4 separate regions of the Homo sapiens genome follow, and all the other regions are linked to region 1. Evidence: promoter capture Hi-C in 16 types of primary human blood cells and fetal thymus (Javierre and others, 2016). All regions are on one chromosome and are shown on one strand. The core of a region is centred on a gene start or on the middle of the fragment in contact, and the rest is flanking DNA. Distances in the headings are between cores, read along the strand shown.

Region 1 (2,963 bases), core at 127-2,626:
CTGGTGGCTGAAGACAGGGAAACCAGGCCAGCCATCCAGCTCACTGCTGCGAGTCTTCCTACTGAGGCGGGGTGTGAGGAGAAGAGGGGATGTGAGGAGTATGCCCCCACTGAGGATCATCAGGGCTGGGGTCCAGGCTCTGCCAGTTACTGACTCAGCCACACAGCCTTTTGGAGCCTTAGTTTCCTCATCCATAAACTGGGATAACAGCAAGCCCTCACTCAGGACTGAAAGGATAAACGAAGTTAGAGAGTAAGGCACTGTGCTAACTCTAAAGCTAAATGCTGCGCTTGTTTTAATTAATTATCCAAGGGGAGATGACCACTAAATGGCAACATCATGGGCCTCATTCCAGGAGGCCAGCAACAGACCAGGAGCCCTCCCACCATCATCACGTGGATGAAGCCCAAGAAGATGAGGGAAAGGTGCCTGAGAGCTCTGATCATGAGCAGGTTTCAGAAAGTCAAAATAGCCCCTATACCTTCTCCCAAGTCCACAACAAAATTTGTTTTCCAGCTCACAAACTCCCTGACTGGGTATTCTGTGAAAAACAAAAGCAAGTAAGACTGTTTCACTTGAGACAAAAATCGCTGTCTCCCCTGGTATTCATCCCCACTACTCTCAAGAAGTACCAGGTAAGGACACTATTTGCCCCTATGCATGGGCCGGGGTAGGTGGCTCAAGCCTGTAATCCCAGCACTTTGGGAAGCTGGGCCGGTTGGATCACTGCAGCTCAGGAGTTCAAGACCAGCCTGAGCAACATGGCAAAATCCTGTTCTACCAAAAAAAAATTAGCCAGGTGCACCTGCAGTCCCAGCTTGGCAGGCTGAAGTGGGAGAATCACCGGAGCCCAGGAGTTTGAGGCTGCGGTAAGCCGTGATTGCACCACTGCACTCCAGCCTGGGTGACAGAGTGAGATTTTGTCTTTAAAAAAAAAAAGTGTACATGTACAAACACGTGAACACGTGCACACATACACACAAACGAAGACCAGAGTGACCAGGGCAACACTGTTTTTAATCTTCTCCTGAAAGTCAGGTCCAGATACCACTTTTGTCAACAACACAGCTTTGTGTCCCAGCAAAGGAACTCCTCACACATCTGCCTGCGATTCAGCAGAAGGTAACCTCTGAGACAATCAGATTTTAACAAGCCCATTCAGGTAGAAAGTTGCTTTCTTTTTTGGTTCATCCCCAGAAGTACTTCCTTCCCCACCACCTCCCATCCCCCACAGCAAAGGACTTAGCCTTAGCCTGGCTATCACTATAAAATGGCCCCTCTGAGGGGCCTCCTTCCTCTCAGCTATTGGAGGAAGGAGAGTATTTGGAGCATTTCCGGCCCTTCTTGGACGGCTGCCTGAACCCTGCAGCCAAGACACATTTGACTGGGACTCCCCCATGGAGAGAAGTCCTCCCAGGTCCTCTGCAAGGGGCATCTGTTCCTTGGCTATGGACATGCCCTAAAGTGCCAGGTGGACGGAAGAGCTCCTGGGACCAGCAGGTGAGTCGGCAGGGAACAAAAGAGGGTGAGATGCCTAGACAGCCCCCACACACAAAAGACTGCAAACAATGGGGAGGGTGTACTGCTTTCATGCCTGGCCACTGACACTGTTCTCTACAGCTAACAAGCAAGGCAGGGCCGGACCCAGCTTAGCACCGGCTCCCGAAGTTCCAAAAAGTAGCTGTGTATCTAACTGCATGGGCATTTTTTGAAAAAAGCAGTTTTAACACTTTGGGGGGCAAAGGCAGTGGGGATCACTTAAGGTCAGAAGTTCGAGACCAGCATGACCAATATGGTGAAACCCCATCTTTACTAAAAATGCAAAAATTAGCAGGGTATGGTAGTGAGCTCCTGTAATCCCAGCTACTCCGGAGGCTGAGGCACGAGAATCACTTGAATCCAAGAGGTGGAGGTTGCAGTGAGCCGAGATCACACCATTGCACTCCAGCCTGGGGGACAGAGCAAAACTCTGTCTCAAAATAAATAAATAAATAAATAAAATTTAAAAAATTAAAAAGCAGTTTTAGCCATGCTGTTTGGCCCATACCAGCATGTTGTATGCTGGTGCCCTCTCTGCACCAGCAACTGGGGCAGCTCTACCTAAGCCAGTGTCTCCATTAGTTCCCTTTCCCTGGGCAGGAGAGCTCCCTATATGGCTGTCTCTTCTTTCAGACCTGAGTCCTTAATGCCACCTGTGGGGCGAGGGTCACAGGTCACACACTTTCTTGTCTCTGCCCCTTCAGCAATCTGTTCTCTGACCTCAGCTAGAGAGGTAAGAGGACTCAGTTTTGGGAGCAGGGGATTTCTGGCAGTTCTAAAGCACGCTGATTTCAGAATCAGCCTCTAAAGGAGGTATTGCCAAAACACCCTCCTGGGCAGCTCCAACGTACTTTAAAAACGTGCTGGGTTGGGGTGGGCCTCCATAAGTAGCAGATCCTGGACCAGAGACAGAGGAGGCGTTTCCTCATAGACAAGTCAGCTGCAGGCTCAGCCCTGCAAGCCCCACTCCAGAGGACTCTTGAGGGATGTCAGGAAGTGATCTAATAGCCCACAGGGCAGCAGGGACAAGCCTGAGATGCCATCCAAGAAAACTCAAAGGACTGGATCCTGCCCCTGCCTCAGCAGGAGACCCTGCCCTATGTAGCACCAGCCAGAGCAAAGGTATCATTGTGAGGGATTGGAAACCACACTTGCCTACCTGGAGTTACCCCTCCTTCCCCCTAAGGAGGTGTATAACAAGCCCCTGTGGGAGGGGCTACACACAGACAACCTCTCAGTGAGTGTTTCAAGTTCCTGCCTTAGTGCTGTGCCCTTGACTCCTGGAATGCTTAGATATAGTTGAAGCCTAGGAAGAATCCACTGCTTCTTTCCCTTCCAGGTATGTAGGCCTGCTTTAGGTTGATACAAACGTGAGCTGGAGAAAGCAGTGAGGACACAGGACAAAGCAAGGGTATCTGTTCTGA
Region 2 (2,963 bases), core at 319-2,818, 370 kb before region 1:
GGTAACCCAGAAACAGAATAGGCATGGGAGAAGTAGGAGACAGAACAGACTGGTTAGGGATAACGAGCTTACCCCTGAGAATCCAGGGCAAGGCTGTTGCATGGAGGAGGCAGGGTGAAATTTAGGAAGCTCCTTGACCATCCTACCTTTTCTCCCCATCACTTGCAGGTACCACTGTGTCCCGCCGCGTGGGCCCCCCAGTCTCTCTTGAACGCCGCAGCAGCAGCTCCAGCAGCATCAGCTCTGCCTATACTGTCAGCCGCCGCTCCTCCCTGGCCTCTCCTTTCCCCCCTGGCTCCCCACCAGAGAATGGAGCATCCTCCCTGCCTGGCCTTATGCCTGCCCAGCACTACCTGCTTCGGGCAAGATATGCTTCAGCCAGAGGGGGTGGTACTTCGCCCACTGCAGCATCCAGCCTGGATCGGATAGGTGGTCTTCCCATGCCTCCTTGGAGAAGCCGAGCCGAGTATCCAGGATACAACCCCAATGCAGGGGTCACCCGGAGGGCCAGTGACCCAGCCCAGGCTGCTGACCGTCCTGCTCCAGCTAGAGTCCAGAGGTTCAAGAGCCTGGGCTGTGTCCATACCCCACCCACTGTGGCAGGGGGAGGACAGAACTTTGATCCTTACCTCCCAACCTCTGTCTACTCACCACAGCCCCCCAGCATCACTGAGAATGCTGCCATGGATGCTAGAGGGCTACAGGAAGAGCCAGAAGTTGGGACCTCCATGGTGGGCAGTGGTCTGAACCCCTATATGGACTTCCCACCTACTGATACTCTGGGATATGGGGGACCTGAAGGGGCAGCAGCTGAGCCTTATGGAGCGAGGGGTCCAGGCTCTCTGCCTCTTGGGCCTGGTCCACCCACCAACTATGGCCCCAACCCCTGTCCCCAGCAGGCCTCATATCCTGACCCCACCCAAGAAACATGGGGTGAGTTCCCTTCCCACTCTGGGCTGTACCCAGGCCCCAAGGCTCTAGGTGGAACCTACAGCCAGTGTCCTCGACTTGAACATTATGGACAAGTGCAAGTCAAGCCAGAACAGGGGTGCCCAGTGGGGTCTGACTCCACAGGACTGGCACCCTGCCTCAATGCCCACCCCAGTGAGGGGCCCCCACATCCACAGCCTCTCTTTTCCCATTACCCCCAGCCCTCTCCTCCCCAATATCTCCAGTCAGGCCCCTATACCCAGCCACCCCCTGATTATCTTCCTTCAGAACCCAGGCCTTGCCTGGACTTTGATTCCCCCACCCATTCCACAGGGCAGCTCAAGGCTCAGCTTGTGTGTAATTATGTTCAATCTCAACAGGAGCTACTGTGGGAGGGTGGGGGCAGGGAAGATGCCCCCGCCCAGGAACCTTCCTACCAGAGTCCCAAGTTTCTGGGGGGTTCCCAGGTTAGCCCAAGCCGTGCTAAAGCTCCAGTGAACACATATGGACCTGGCTTTGGACCCAACTTGCCCAATCACAAGTCAGGTTCCTATCCCACCCCTTCACCATGCCATGAAAATTTTGTAGTGGGGGCAAATAGGGCTTCACATAGGGCAGCAGCACCACCTCGACTTCTGCCCCCATTGCCCACTTGCTATGGGCCTCTCAAAGTGGGAGGCACAAACCCCAGCTGTGGTCATCCTGAGGTGGGCAGGCTAGGAGGGGGTCCTGCCTTGTACCCTCCTCCCGAAGGACAGGTATGTAACCCCCTGGACTCTCTTGATCTTGACAACACTCAGCTGGACTTTGTGGCTATTCTGGATGAGCCCCAGGGGCTGAGTCCTCCTCCTTCCCATGATCAGCGGGGCAGCTCTGGACATACCCCACCTCCCTCTGGGCCCCCCAACATGGCTGTGGGCAACATGAGTGTCTTACTGAGATCCCTACCTGGGGAAACAGAATTCCTCAACTCTAGTGCCTAAAGAGTAGGGAATCTCATCCATCACAGATCGCATTTCCTAAGGGGTTTCTATCCTTCCAGAAAAATTGGGGGAGCTGCAGTCCCATGCACAAGATGCCCCAGGGATGGGAGGTATGGGCTGGGGGCTATGTATAGTCTGTATACGTTTTGAGGAGAAATTTGATAATGACACTGTTTCCTGATAATAAAGGAACTGCATCAGAAAAAATACCATGCCACTTTATGTATTATTATGTTGGGGAGGAATGATAACAGGGAACAAGAAGAGAAGCAGGGGTTAATCCACTCACTTTCCTCTTTAGAGAAGCTCCCTCACCCATCCCAACACCTCAAGTCACACTCATGAAGATAGAGACAGTCATTTGGGAGATTTAAAGGGATATCCTCAAAACAGAACACCAGCCTCTCACCACCAGAGATGACCGGAAATATGTTTTCTCTTCTTCCTTCCCTGCATCAGGGGAAGAGGCTGGTGAAGTTGGTGAGCATCAGCTGGACCAGCTGCCCTGGGTAGAGAGCATGGGCTGCTGGGTCAGATGTCTCCTGCTCTGGCCGAAACAGGGTTGGTCCAAACACAATTCCCAGGTTGTGGGGTGTCATGCGATTCTTATCTGAGTGTGCTATCACCCTGTAAGCAAAGGCCAAGGAAGGGGATATATGGCAGCAGCTTGCCACTTCATAGCAATCTAACTAACCCTTCAAAGTTCTGAGCAGGGAAGAGTTCACTCTGGGATTCCTCCACATGGTAACAAAAAAACCAAGGAGATACAAGGAGAATGGAGATGGACCAGTGGAGAAACCTTCAGGATACAACCTGAAGATATAACTGCCTCTTCCGACTTCAGGGGCTGCCCCAAGAGTTCTGCCTGCTCACAGTTTGGGAGTCTTTAATTCAAGTGGCCATCCTCTCTCAGAAGTCACTGCCCAGGCCCAGTTCAACCAAAGAAGCCATCAGCAATGTCCCAATGGGAGACAAAGAGGCAGAGGGAAGGGAGAAGTAAGATTTCCCTTATTCCTTTCACAGCATCTTGGTTCCATTTCCCCACTTGAT
Region 3 (2,963 bases), core at 320-2,819, 300 kb before region 1:
TGTCAGCTCCTCCTGCAAGAACAGGTAGTTTAGGCCAGGGACACACTCATTCCCACTCTAGAACTTACTCTACCCCACAAAATCCCCAAACCATTAGGTGACTGGGCCCTACTTGTCCAAGGGGAAAGAAGGGTGGCTCTATTCCAAGGCGCCTACCCAGGCTTAACCTAGGAAACTGAAGCTTCCTGGTAAATTTGGAGCCTCAGTTGTATAAATATTAACACCCTCATTCAACTGGGAGCAGAGGGAGCATAACCTCCCCACCCTCTCTGTACATAAGCCTTCCCATCCCCCCATGCTACCCCTCCCAGTTGTCTGGCACACGCCATGCACTCAAGGCAAGAAACCAACCTGACCTCTTTTAACCTCCCCCTCCCAAAAGTAAATCTTGCCCGCTGAGCAAGTCCATTTTAATGCTAACCTCCCATCCTTGCTAGAAGGAAAGAGGAGGGAAGGCAGATAATCAGGCCACTAACACTGAGTGTGAATATTAGGACTTTAAACCTGTTGAAGGTAAGACACAAGCTCTTAGTACAAAAAGAAGGCCGACAGAGGGCCTGACCAGAAGCCTGATTTCCAGGCTGCCATGAGGCCAGCGAACTCAGGGACAGGGAGAAGGGGCAAGGGCTTACTGGATTATCTTTATGGGACATCTTAGAAGCAACAAACATAGGCAATATCTGCTTGCCAAGAGTATCCATGGGCAAGAGCCACATGTAAGCTCTGAAATGGAGATAAACCAGCATCTCTTCAGAGACGCTGCAGCACCTGATTTTTCTCCCTGACTCCTCTGCTATGCTTTAAGCACTGAAGCTCTTCCAAAAACAGGGGACACAAGTAGGCGGTGAAAGAGACTTCACCCTAGAAACTGAAGCAGAGAGGTTCCCTCCTTACTAGATATCTACATGCTGTTCAGATTCCAGTGACAACACCAAGACTGCACCAAGCACTCCTGACTGCATGTCCCTTTTTCAATTGTCAGAAGCCTGACAGCTCCCAACAGAGTACTGATGGAAGTAGGAGGGAGACCCAGGAGTCCTTTTCTGTTGGGGATGACATCTCTACCTTCTATGGGAGGAAGGCAAAATGAGCCTTCCTTCTTTCACCTAGAACAATGGTTCTCACCCCAGGCTGCATGTTAGAATCACTTATAATTTTTTTTTTTTTTTAAATAGACAGCCGGGCAATGGTGGCTCAAGCCTGTCTGTAGTCCCAGCACTTTGGGAGGATCCTAATTCCAAGTGATCCACCCGCCTCGGCCTCCCAAAGTTCGGCCAAGGCGGGTGGATCTCAGGAGTTCAAGACCAGCCTGGGCAACATAGGGAAACCCCAACTCTACAAAAAATATAAAATAGCTGGGTATTGTGGCACGTGCCTGTGGTCCCAGCTACTCAGGAGGCTGAGGTGGAAGGGTCACTTGAGCCTGGCAGGTGGAGGATGCAGTGAGCAGAGATCATGCCACTGCACTCCAGCCTGGGCAACAGAGTGAGACCCTGTCTCAAAAAAAGAAAAAGAGAGAGAGAGAAAAGAAAAAAAAAAAAAAAAAAAGGCCTGGGCCCACTTCTAGAGATTCTAATGAATTATTCTGGGGTAGGGCCAGATATCCAGGTGATTCTAACCTACAGCCAGGACTGAGAATCTCTGCCTGTGTGTAGGTATGTGGGGAGAGGGTGTGAGGGGGACATGGTGGGACATCATTGAGAAAGAAAAGCAGATAGAAGGAAGCTCCTTCCTTCATCTCTGCTCTGCTATTAGAGCAGGAATCAGTGTGGGTGACAGCTTTAAAAATAAGGGAAGAAGGAAGGAAAGGACAAAGTATCAACTTTGATCTTTACCTCTTCCTCAGGGAATTACTGGGCAGAGGGGTAAGAGCTATAGATCAAGGGAAAACAAAAGGACTCAATGTCCCATATGCAAGTGCCCGGGGGGAGAGACATTTGAGTCCCAAATGATTATCTCTTTAACCTGTTCTGAAATGTTACGGCCAGAACACCCACCCATCTAATAGCTGTGTGATCTCTGGCCTCTTATCAACTGGGAAGGGCTCAGGCTAAGGATAGACAACCATCTTCTCTGAAGTTCATACTCAGGAATATGCCACTTCTCCCTGTGAAAGCCCCAATCCAGGCCAATCCCACCCATCCTCTTTTGTTTAATCCTCTTAAAAAAGAGGAATGGGAGGCATAACCTACAGACCCAGGAAAAAAATTAATCATAGCTACCATTTGTTAAGCCCTTATTATGGGCGGGCACTATGCAGATGGAACCTACTTTCTTATTTACGTTCCTAAGTAGGGAAAGCGGGGAGTAGAAGAGGGTCAACACATAGACGGTGAGTCTCAGAGGTTCTGGACAGTCACAGGGACAGAGAGCATTTTCATTCCTGCTGTGGGAGAGTGTCCTGGGCCAGTTGGGCTACCTGGCGCTGGCATCCTCTGGAGCCTCTCCAAGGCTGTGGCCCGGGAGCACACTCTAGTCCTCCAGTAGCACCTACTCCAGCAGTGTCTTGAAGATCTGGGGCATGAGTTGGGGGCAGTATAATTACAGTGACTTGTGAGATAGGAAAAGGCTGGGTGTGGGACTGAATAGATGAATGAAAGATTTAGTAGAGTCTAAAGGACAGAGAAACAACTGCTCATCATAGCACACCCCGTTAAAAAGCAGATGAAAGGTCAGGCTTCTTACCAGCTCCTTGTGGTTTCCCCAGAGGTGAGAAAATCAAAAGAGTTAAAAGGAAAGGGAGTGGGGGAATGGGGATGAGGGAGGGAAAAAAAAGACAAAATTGTTATTAGCAAATTGTCACATGCACTACATGACAGTCTTCCAACACACTGCACCACAGGGCCCCAGGGGAGCCTAGCGAAATTTAGGGGCCAAGAAATTTCAGCTGGGGTCACCATATACCCCAAGAGAAAGAAGAGCATGAGACCCTTTTCCCTCTGGTGGTGAGGATGTCATGAAGC
Region 4 (2,963 bases), core at 348-2,847, 260 kb before region 1:
AGTCTGGGAACCTCACTGGGGCTTTTCTTTTCTTTTCCTTTTTTCTTTTCTTTTTTTTTTTTAGAGATGGAGTCTCAATTTGTTACCTAGGCTGGAATGCAGTGGGGCAATCTCAGCTCACTGCAGCCTCGATCTTCCAGGGTCAAGCAGTCCTCCTGCCTCAGCCCCCTAAGTAGCTGGGACTACAAGTGCACCACCACACATGGCTAATTTTTGTAGAGATGGAGTTTTGCCATGTTACCCAGGCTGGTCTCGAACTCCTGAGCTCAGGCAATGTGCCCACCTAGGCCTCCCAAAGTGCTGGGATTACAGGCGTGAGCCACTGCGCCCGGCTGGGGCTTTTCTTAAAGCACAAATTTTAAAGTCTGGGGGCTTCTTCATTCTTCATTCTGTTGCCCTATTTCTATGAAACCTAAAGCCCACTTCCTCTTAACTCTTTATTTTGGGTAGGGTGGGGGCTCAGCTTCCCAGACCCAAGGCCATAGAAATGGTCACTGGCAGTGATCTTTCCCACATGCCACTCCTCTCCCTTGAAGCTGCTGGTGTCCACCCGAGGAGACAACGAGAAGGTCCAGCGGGAGCTGAGCCACCTGCAATCAGAGAACGATGCCGCTAAGGATGAGGTGAAGGAAGTGCTGCAGGCCCTGGAGGAGCTGGCTGTGAACTATGACCAGAAGTCCCAGGAGGTGGAGGAGAAGAGCCAGCAGAACCAGCTTCTGGTGGATGAGCTGTCTCAGAAGGTGGTAAGTGGTGTGCCAATGGTCCAACAGCTCCCTGACCACAGAACATCTCCCATGTCGAGGGGACCTCTGCATCCTTCCAGGGCTGTATGGTGGCTGCACCTCTGCACTGCTGTTCAGTGCATTGTGAGTCCCTCCCCAACCCTGTCACTGCACTTTCCCCTCACAGTCCCTCTGTCTTTCAGACTCTTCTGCAGGGCCTGTGTTCTCTTCATAGCAGCCCTCAGGGTCTTGCATGAAGGGAGAGGCCTCTGCCTGGGCTGGGCAAGGGAGCAGGAGGATGGCAACAGGAATGACCTGAGGGGCTGTCCCCAGGCCACCATGCTGTCCCTGGAGTCTGAGTTGCAGCGGCTACAGGAGGTCAGTGGACACCAGCGAAAACGAATTGCTGAGGTGCTGAACGGGCTGATGAAGGATCTGAGCGAGTTCAGTGTCATTGTGGGCAACGGGGAGATTAAGCTGGTGAGTGGTGAGAGACAGCAGCCTTGTTCAGGCTGGGCACTAGTGGAAGACGCAAGATGAGCCATCCAGGCCTTCACAGATACTGAGAAAGGCAGCCAGAGAGCCAGGAAACATGCCTTTGAACTAGACCCAGGAAGACAGGTAGAGGCTTGTATAGACCCAATTGAAAAGATACATTCTAGGTTGGGCGCAGTGGCTCACCGCTGTAATCCCAGCACTTTGGGAGGCCGAGGCAGGCGGATCACTTGAGGTCAGGAGTTCGAGACCTGACCTCGCCAACATGGCGAAACCCTGTCTCTACTAAAAATACAAAAATTAGCCAGGCGTGGTGATGTGCACCTGTAATTCCAGCTACTCAGGAGACTGAGGCAGGAGAATCGCTTCAACCTGGGAGGTAGAGGTTGCAGTGAACTGAGATCACACCACTGCACTCTAGCCTGGGTTATAGAGTGAGACTCTGCCTTAAAAACAAAACAAAACAAAACTAAATTCTAACGGGTGCTGAATAAAGAAGCAATGGAGGCCAGGCATGGTGGTTCATGCCTGTAATCCCAACATTTTGGGAGGCTGAGACAGGCGGATCGCTTGAGCCCAGGAGTTCACGACCAGCCTGGGTGACATAGTGAAACCCTATCTCTACAAAAAATACAAACGATTAGCTGGGGGTGGTGGCACACACCTATAGTACCAGCTACTTGACAGGCTGAGGTGGGAGAATCACCTGAGTATGGGAGGTTGAGGCTGCAGTGAGACATGATTGAGCTACTGCAATCCAGCCTGGGTGACAGAGCCAGACCTTGTCTTAAAAAAAAAAAAAAAGAGGCTGTACATGGTGGCTCACGCCTGTAATCCCAGCACTTTGGGAGGACGAGGCGGGTGGATCACCTGAGGTCAGGAGTTCGAGACCAGCCTGTTCAACATGGAGAAACTCCGTGTCTACTAAAAATATAAAATTAGCCGGGTGTGGTGGCTCATGCCTGTAATCCCAGCTACTCACGTGGCTGAGGCAGGGGAATCGCTTGAACCTGGAGGCGGAGGTTGCAGTGAGCCGAGATTGCACCATTGCACTCCAGCCTGGGCAACAAGAGTGAAACTCCGTCTCAAAAAAAAAAAAAAAAAAATTTGGGAGGCCGAGGCGAGGTCAGGAGATTGAGACCATCCTGGCTAACACAGTGAAACCCTGTCTCTACTAAAAAAATACAAAAAATTAGCCAGGCATGGTGGCGGGCGCCTGTAGTCCCAGCTACTCAGGAGGCTGAGGCAGGAGAATGGCGTGAACCTGGGAGGCGGAGCTTGCAGTGAGCAGAGATGCGGCACTGCACTCCAGCCTGGGTGACAGAGGGAGACTCTGTCTCAAAAAAAAAAAAAAAAAGCAGCAGCAACAGAGCAGTGCTTGCAGTAGGAGTTAGAGGTGGGGCATAGGCACAGAGTTCAGAATGAAATATGCAAATCTGTGGATGTGAGAATAATCTGGGTGATCAAGGAGATCAAAAGAAAATCATGTTGCTTTATAAGATTTATTTGTAAGTGGGGGACTGTCAGAATTGGATTTTTTTTTTTTTTTGAGATGGAGTCTTGCTCTGTTGCCCAGGCTGGAGTGCAGTGGTGTGATCTCAGCTCACTGCAACCTCCGCCTCCCAGGTTCAAGCAATTCTTCTGCTTCAGCCTCCCGAGTAGCTGGGACTACAGGCACACACCACCTCTCCTGGCTAATTTTTTATGTTTTTAGTAGAGAGAGGGTTTCACCATATTGGCCAGGCT

The links. The method cuts DNA at HindIII sites, captures the fragments that hold promoters and counts their contacts. A CHiCAGO score of 5 or more calls a contact.
Region 2: a contact is called between a fragment that was not itself captured here and the fragment with the promoter of CTDSP2-AS1 in region 1, in 1 of 17 cell types (non-activated CD4 T cells). The highest score is 5.3, in non-activated CD4 T cells.
Region 3: a contact is called between a fragment that was not itself captured here and the fragment with the promoter of CTDSP2-AS1 in region 1, in 2 of 17 cell types (naive CD4 T cells and naive CD8 T cells). The highest score is 5.6, in naive CD4 T cells.
Region 4: a contact is called between a fragment that was not itself captured here and the fragment with the promoter of CTDSP2-AS1 in region 1, in 6 of 17 cell types (non-activated CD4 T cells, total CD8 T cells, M0 macrophages and 3 more). The highest score is 7.0, in non-activated CD4 T cells.

What each region holds. Positions count from the first base shown.
Region 1 is chr12:57,835,715-57,838,677 of GRCh38, forward strand. It overlaps CTDSP2-AS1 (CTDSP2 antisense RNA 1), which reads left to right and starts at 1,377. Exons shown (of 2, transcript NR_188077.1): 1 at 1,377-1,500. The region is part of intron 1 of CTDSP2 (CTD small phosphatase 2); the gene reads right to left. RefSeq lists enhancers at 1,607-1,676, 2,266-2,886, 2,467-2,576, 2,637-2,716. The HindIII fragment of the contact is 9,495 bases long and covers 1-2,963 here.
Region 2 is chr12:57,470,149-57,473,111 of GRCh38, forward strand. It overlaps GLI1 (GLI family zinc finger 1), which reads left to right. Exons shown (of 12, transcript NM_005269.3): 12 at 169-2,120. The coding sequence ends at 1,913. It overlaps ARHGAP9 (Rho GTPase activating protein 9), which reads right to left. Exons shown (of 18, transcript NM_032496.4): 18 at 2,121-2,540. The coding sequence ends at 2,369. Among named protein-coding and RNA genes, the nearest start is that of ARHGAP9, 8.2 kb to the right of the region's middle. The HindIII fragment of the contact is 4,786 bases long and covers 1-2,963 here.
Region 3 is chr12:57,535,834-57,538,796 of GRCh38, forward strand. It overlaps DCTN2 (dynactin subunit 2), which reads right to left. Exons shown (of 14, transcript NM_001261413.2): 3 at 1-12. Among named protein-coding and RNA genes, the nearest start is that of DCTN2, 9.9 kb to the right of the region's middle. The HindIII fragment of the contact is 2,781 bases long and covers 180-2,960 here.
Region 4 is chr12:57,571,525-57,574,487 of GRCh38, forward strand. KIF5A (kinesin family member 5A) reads left to right here. Exons shown (of 29, transcript NM_004984.4): 14 at 537-743; 15 at 1,056-1,202. Among named protein-coding and RNA genes, the nearest start is that of PIP4K2C, 18 kb to the right of the region's middle. The HindIII fragment of the contact is 3,828 bases long and covers 1-2,963 here.